Linked DNA regions of Homo sapiens: region 1 is linked to region 2. The links are contacts of gene promoters, found by promoter capture Hi-C in blood cells and fetal thymus (Javierre and others, 2016). All regions are on one chromosome and are shown on one strand. Each heading gives the region's core, a stretch centred on a gene start or on the middle of the fragment in contact. The rest is flanking DNA. Distances are from core to core; before and after follow the strand shown. Region 1 holds the start of CYP2F1 (cytochrome P450 family 2 subfamily F member 1). Region 2 holds the start of CYP2B6 (cytochrome P450 family 2 subfamily B member 6).

Evidence for each region. Contacts are between HindIII fragments. The CHiCAGO score rates a contact against its expected background, and 5 or more counts as called.
Region 1: the fragment with the promoter of CYP2F1 here is called in contact with the fragment with the promoter of CYP2B6 in region 2 in 17 of 17 cell types (naive CD8 T cells, total CD4 T cells, naive CD4 T cells and 14 more); the score reaches 32.0 in naive CD8 T cells.

What each region holds. Positions count from the first base shown.
Region 1 is chr19:41,112,244-41,115,929 of GRCh38, reverse strand. It overlaps CYP2F1 (cytochrome P450 family 2 subfamily F member 1), which reads right to left and starts at 1,498. Exons shown (of 10, transcript NM_000774.5): 1 at 1,438-1,498. The HindIII fragment of the contact is 5,953 bases long and covers 1-1,704 here.
Region 2 is chr19:40,989,421-40,993,001 of GRCh38, reverse strand. It overlaps CYP2B6 (cytochrome P450 family 2 subfamily B member 6), which reads right to left and starts at 1,720. Exons shown (of 9, transcript NM_000767.5): 1 at 1,526-1,720. The coding sequence starts at 1,696. RefSeq lists cis regulatory regions at 1,955-1,978, 3,353-3,365, promoters at 1,715-3,380, 1,681-3,581 and enhancers at 3,407-3,426, 3,409-3,456. The HindIII fragment of the contact is 6,148 bases long and covers 1,467-3,581 here.

The DNA of each region.
Region 1 (3,686 bases), core at 249-2,748, 120 kb before region 2:
CTAAGAGAGGCCAAGAGATATGCATAAAGATAATGAGAGAGACAGAAAAACAGTGAGCGATCTACATATCTACAGATGTCTGTCTACCTATCAGCCATCTATCATCTATCACTCTTTCTTTCCTTCCTTCCTTCCTTTCTTTTTCTTTCTTTCTTTTTTCTTTTTCTTTCTTTCTTTGTTTCTCATCTATTATCTAACATCTATCAACATCTATCTATCATCTATCTATCTATCTATCATCTATCATCTGTCTATCCATCATCTATCTATTCTTCTATCATCTATCATTGATCTGTCTATTATCTATCATCTATTATCTATCTATATCTATCATCTATCTACTATCTTCATAATCTATCATCTGTGTATCATCTGTCTATTATCTATCTATCATCACCTGTCTGTCAAGAGACTGTCATACAGAGACAGTGATAAAGAGAGATCAAGACACACAGGGACAGAGACAGACAAACACAGAGATAGGGAGAGCCAGAGAGCACATCACAGAAAGAGAGAGGCTGACATAGACTAGAGAAAGAAAGAGACAGAACTAGACAGACACAGAGCTAGAGAAAGACAAGGGAGATTGAGTGGAGAGACAGTGAGATGGACACTGACTGAGAGACAGAGAGGGACATGGAAGGATGGAGAGAAAAAGGGTAAGAGGGACAGAGAGAGGGAGAGACAGAGCTAGACACAGAGACTGAGGGAGACGAGAATGACAGACAGAAACAGATACACAAAGACAGAGTCACATAGACAGAGATGGAGAGAGAGAGAGAGAGAATAAGAGAGGCAGGGAATATTAGAGCCACACAAAGAGACGGGTAGGCTGCAAAGGGCAGACCAAGAGAGACTGAGGCCGGGCACGGTGGCTCACGCCTGTAATCCCAGCACTCTGGGAGGCCGAGGCAGGCGGATCACTTGAGGTCAGGAGTTTGAGACCAGCCTGGCCAACATGGTGAAACCCTGTCTCTACTAAAAACACAAAAATTAGTCAGGCGTGGTGTTAGGCACCTGTAATCCCAGCTACTCAGGAGGCTGAGGCAGGAGAATCGCTTGAACCCAGGAGGTGGAGGTTGCAGTGAGCTGAGATTGAACCACTGCACTCCAGCCTCAAAAAAAAAAAAAAAAAAAAAAAGAGAGAGAGAGAGAGAGAAAGAGACGGAGACAGAGAGGAAGGGCACAGGCAGAAACAGTGACAGGAAAAAATCAAGTGTTGCCAACCATGGGGTTGCATTGCAGAGAGAGAAGCCACCTACTTGGTGAAGCACCAGTAAAGAAATCCCAGTGCTCAGAACAGGGACATGAGAGCTCTCAGAGGAAACAGCAAAAAAGATTCCTAGCCAGTCTCAGAGACAGAGATTGGAGCTGGCGACCCACCCTCTCTTGGGAGACACCCCCTCCTTCTCTGCCTCCCTCACCGGGGCCCTTTACCTGCTGAGCTGCAGGAGACACTGGCTGGGATGCGCTAGAGCCTGCAGCTCTGGGTGTGCTTGGGGGGTGGTGGGGCAGAGGTTGTTCTTAAGTTGTTTCTGCCCACACCCTCCTCCTTAACCCCACTTTTCTTGTTCTCGCTGTGAACTTTAAATCCCTCCCATCATCTTGCCATACCTTTCCTGCGGCCCTAGGGCTCACAGCCAGCTGGAAAGGTGCCGTGGGAGGGGGCTGCGCCTGGGGGCCCTCCTGGGATGGGGCAAAGCTTTCTTTCTTTCTTTGTTTTTTTTTTTTGCTTTGCCAGTTGGAGCCTGGGCCTGGTTTTGGGGTAGTCATGGGGCTGTCGCAAAATGATGGGCCAGGGATGGGGGCTGGGTTCCTTTGGTATTTGGGGCACTTGTTTCTTTTTCTCTGGGTTCAAGTCCATTTCTGCCACTGATGGGCCGAGTGGCCCTGGCTAAGTCCCTTTCCCTCCAGAGCTGGAGTTTTCTCTTTCTCTGGAAGCCTATTTTTTCATAGTTCTCCATGCTGTTCCCTGTCTCTTGCCGTGGGTCTCTGAAATGCTCTGTGTCTTGCTTTGCTTCTGCCTCTACAGTCTCTGCCTCTGAATCTTTTTGTCTCTCTGTGTCTCTGTCTCTCCCTCCTTTGGTGTCTCTGGGTCTTCATTTCTTATGCTCTCTGGGCTTTCTCCTTCTCTCTGCTTCTCTCCCTGATCTCCCTGTAAGTCCCTCTCAGTCACTGTCTCCTGATCTCTCTGGTCTCTCACTCTCTCTATCTCTCATGTCTCCACGAGTCAGACTGCACTTGGTGGGACTGAAGCCAAGCTGAGGCTGAAGGAGTGTTTAAGAAAAGGGCAGAGCTGGAAGCCACAGGGAAAAAGCCTCTCAGACTAGAATGACACTCTCTCCCACCACTGGCTCATAAACAGCCCTCCTCCTGCCCTCCTGAGCACCCTACTAGCCATGTCTACTCTCAGCTCCTGCCTTAGAAACTCACCCTAGTAGGCCAGGCGCAGTGGCTCACGCCTGTAATCCCAGCACTTTGGGAGGCCGAGGTGGGTGGATCACCTGAGGTCAGGAGTTCAAGACCAGCCTGGCCAACATGGTGAAACCCTGTCTCTACTAATAATACAAAAATTAGCCAGGCATGGTGGCTCACGCCTGTAGTCTGAGCTACTTGGGAGGCTGGGGCAGGAGAATCGCTTGAACCCGGGAGGTGGAGGTTGCAGTGAGCTAAGAACATGCCACTGCACTCCAGCCTGGGCAACAGGGTGAGACTCGGTCTCAAAAAAAAAAAAAAAAAAAAAAGAAGAAGAAACTGGCCCTAGTTACCCACCTCCTGGCCAGGTCACAAGGGCAGAATGCAAAACCTGGAGCTGGGCCAGGGCTCTGGTGCCAGGGGCTAGGCTGGGTGGAGAGCCCCTGCGGTCAAGGGTCTGGGAGGCCAGGTGGAGGTGTGGGTACCCCCACAGGTTCGTGGGTGTGCACCAGGATTGCTGTTCTCAGAGGGGCAGAGGAGGAAGTGTTTGGAGGTCCTGGGGAATTTGACACCCTAGGTCCCAGGCATATGGTGGGGTGGAGGTGGGGCCCATGCTGTTGTTTCAGTCCTGGATAGGCCGGTTGGGGCAGGTCCTGGAAGAGGGCTGAAGGCTTGATGATGGGATTATATAGCTCTAGTTTCCCTTGGCGTCTACTCCCTACTTTTAAGGGGAGGGTGTAGTGCTGTATCCACGCCAACCCTGTAAGCAACTTATCCCTCACCCTAGAACTTGGTTAAGAGGGGCCTAATGAGGCTGGGCGTGGTGGCTCATGCCTGTAATCCCAGCACTTTGGGAGGCCGAGGTGGGTGGATCACCTGAGGTCAGGAGTTTGAGACAGCCTGACCAACATGGCAAAACCCTGTCTCTACTAAAAATACAAAAAAAATTAGCCAGGCGTGGTGGTGCTTGCCTATAATCCCAGCTACTCAGGAGGCTGAGGCAGGAGAATCACTTGAACCCGGGAGGTGGAGGTTGCAGTGAGCTGAGATTGTACCATTGCACTCCAGCCTGGGCAACAAGAGTGAAACTTTGACTCAAAAAAAAGAAAAAAAAAGAAAAAAAAGATGGGCCTAATGGGACCACCTGATTGGGGAAACTGGGATTTATGGGAAGGGCAGTTAGTTAGTTTGTTTTGACACAGGGTCTCACTCTGTCACCCAGACTGGAGTTTAGTGGTGTGATCATAGCTCATTGCAGCCTCGATCTCCTG
Region 2 (3,581 bases), core at 471-2,970:
TCAAGTTAAAAGAGACTATTAACAGCCTTTCTTCTCTCTGTGGACAGTGGACCTTATCTATACCCCCAAGTCCACATTCCTCAAAGTTTATTACAGGCCCAGTGACTTCATTTTCTTCGTATTACCCTCCTGAGAGCCATCATAACAGTCTCCCTGATGTGTTGTATTTTCTCAAGAGTCTTGGCCGGGTGCGGTGGCTCACACATGTAATCCTAGCACTTTGGGAGGCCGAGGCAGGTGGATTGCTTGAGCCCAGGAGTTTAAGACCAGTCTGGGCAACATGGCAAAACCCTGTCTCTACAAAAAATACAAAAATTAGCTGGGCGTGGTGGCATGCACCTGTAGTTCCAGCTACTTGGGGGGCTGAGGCAGGAGGATCACTTGAGCCTTGGGAGGTCAAGGCTGCAGTGAGACGTGATCATGCCACAGCACTTCAGCCTGGCTGACAGAGTGAGGCCCTGTCTCAGAAAAAAAAAGAGTCTTAAATGCTCATATGCAGCCATTCTTTGTACATCCAGTGGGCTCATTACAGTGGGAACAACAAAAACATGAAGAAAAGGTAAAGAATCACTCAACTACGTTGACATTGTCCATTGTGAATTCCATACTGAGAGCAGACAAGTCCATTATGATGGTGACAGAAGTAATGTTGATGCCCAAGGTTTTGGTCAATCTCAAAATTTTGAGGCTGACCAAAAGGGGAGAATTGTTTAATTAAATTAAATTTGACCTAAAGCTCTCTCTGTAGAGTGAACTGCAACCTAACTTGGGAGTATATTCTTTTTTTTTTTTTTTTTTTTGAGAAGGAGTCTCACTCTGTCACCCAGGATGGAGTGCAGTGGTAAGATTTTGGCTCACTGCAACCTCTGCCTCCTGGATTCAAGTGATTCTCCTTCCTCAGCCTCCTGGGTAGCTGAGATTACAGGCACGCATCACTATGCCCAGCTAATATTTGTATTTTTAGTAGAGACAAGGTTTCACCATGTTGGCCAGGCTGGTCTCGAACTCCTGACCTCAGGTGATCCACCACCTCGGCCTCCAAAAGCACTGGGATTACAGGCATGAGCCACTGCACCTGGCCCAAATGAATATATTCTTGTGACAAGTAGCCAAGTGTTGGCTAATCAGAGCAGCTGGGCTTTCAGTCCACACAGGCTGCAAACTGCTCAGATTGTGACCAAGTAAGGCAAGCTGTGATCTGTGGCCAATCAGGCTGTTTCTGTATGTCACCTCCTTTTTCTGCCTGTAAATACCACTTGACCATACTGCCGTGTGGTGTCTTTCCTGGTTTAGGGAGCTGTCCAACTCATGAGTCACTTCTTTGCTCAAATAAACTCTGCTAAATTTAATTTGATGCTTTTCTCCTAATAATACCACCCATCATGCTTCACCATGCTCCGTACTCACCAACCATGCCCGTGCCACCCCTGACTCTGGAAGTCTGCCTCATTCTGTTTGGTGAAGCTTCCCCAAGTACCAAGGCAAGAAGCAGCTCACCCTCAGACCCCATTCGTCTGTGTCTTACCCTCAGAAAGGATTTGAGTAGGCCTCTTCTATCCATCTGCAGAAGGTTTCCCAAAAGGGGCAGAGGGCGGGGCCCTGGTGGGAGGCGGTCATGGGTGTTAGGGTGGCGCTGAACCAGGAGTAGCAAGAGTCCTGTGAGGAGTGCAAGGAAGAGGAGGACGCTGAGTTCCATGGTCCTGGTCTGACTGCCCTGCACCCTGCTGCAGCCTCCAACTGGGCCTTTTATCCTGACCCTGCCTCTGCACCCTGTTATAAAATTTCATCCATTCCCCACCTCCTTTTTCATCATCATCCAGGAGCATTAGCTTAGAAAAAGTTGTTAGGGAACCCAGACTTCCTGCTTGGGCAACCCAGTGACCTGATGCCTATCCCTTTACCCACTCTGTAGATATTGGCAGGGATACAGTGGTAGAGATATCAAAGTCCAGGTGAGCAAGTGAATGTGTGGGTGTGTGGGTTTGTGGGTATATGTATGTCTATTTTTGTAAGCATAGGTGAGCTTGCACTTTTTTACTTAGCTTTGTCTGTTTGTCTGTGCTTGCATGCATTTGTCCATGCCTGCTTGCATCCCTGTATGTGCTTATATGATTTTTACATGTAAAGGGGTGTTTGAATTTATGCAAATGTACTGGCGTATATTTCTGTGGTTGAATCTGGGGGTGCTTATGTGTGTATCCTTGCATGTGTATGAGCTTCCTTGTATTTATACAGTTTTATATACGAAAGTGCATTTACATTTGTGTGTTGTGGAGGTGGTGGTAGTGCATGTTCAAAACTGAGAGGCTGGCTGGGTGCGGTGGCTCACACCTGTAATCCCAGCACGTTGGGAAGCTGAGGGGGGCAGATCAATTGAGGTCAAGAGTTCGAGACCATCCTGGCCCACATGGCAAAACCCCATCTGTACTAAAAACACAAAAATTAACCGGGCGTGATGGTGGGTACTTTTAATCCCAGCTACTCGGGAGGCTGAGGCAAGAGAATCACTTGAACCTGGGAGGTGGAGGCTGCAGTGAGCCAAGATTACACCACTGCACTCCAGCCTGGGTGACACAGCAATACTCCATCTCAAAAAAAAAAAAAAAAAAAAAAAAAGGAGAAGCTGATGAAAATAAGGAATTATTCAATTCAATCAAATTTGGCCTACTGCCTTTGTAGCATAGCAAACTGTAACCTAGCAATACATGAACCAATTGTGTGTATCTGTGTGTGCTGGTGTATTTGTGCTGGTGTGTTGGTGGATCTCCTAGCCCCTCTCTTTGGAAGCCTGCAGATGCTGAGTCTATCTCCAGTGTCCCCTCCTTCATCCGCCCTTCTGTGACAGCCACAGGTGGAAGTGGTCGGAGAAACAGAAGGAGGAGCAAGAGATGCAGAACTGGTGAGTCTCAGAGGAAGAGGTGGTCAGTTGGAAGGAGACAGAAACTGAGACCTGGCAGGTACAGCGATCAGGTCCTCTTGGTTTCTGATCACTCTAACTAGTGCTAAGGAGTTTCTTCCCTGCCTCTGACTATCTTCACGGTGCAGGAAATTTCTCTGGCTCTCTCTCTGTCTGACTTTGTGTCTCTGTTTTCCCCCTGGAGACTCTTGAGCTCCAGGTGTGTGCAAACTGAGTCCAGTTTGATTGATGTCTACTGGACTCCCATATGTCTCTATCCTCACTGTGCACCTTCACCCACACATCCTCTGACAGGGTCAGTCCATCTTTGCAAAACGTGGGTGTGAATGTGTGCGTGTCTGCCTGTCTCATCCTACGCCTGACTTTTGACCATGAGGCAACATCTTTCTTGCAATGTTAAGCAAACCCTTTGCTGGATCCAGGACCTGAACCCGAAGTTACTTTGACCCAGGAGGAGCAGACAAACAGTCCTATTTGTAAGAGGTGGAAACTGTACTTTCCTGACCCTGAAGAGGTGGCAGCATGGACTTTCCTGAACCAAGGGCCTCGGTCTTGCTGTGCTGTGTCATCTGACACTAAGATTGGGTGCTCATTGCAGCCCCAGGGTGAAGCACCGATGGGGAGGCGTGAAGTGCTTTACACACAGTAACTCAGTCTTTACACT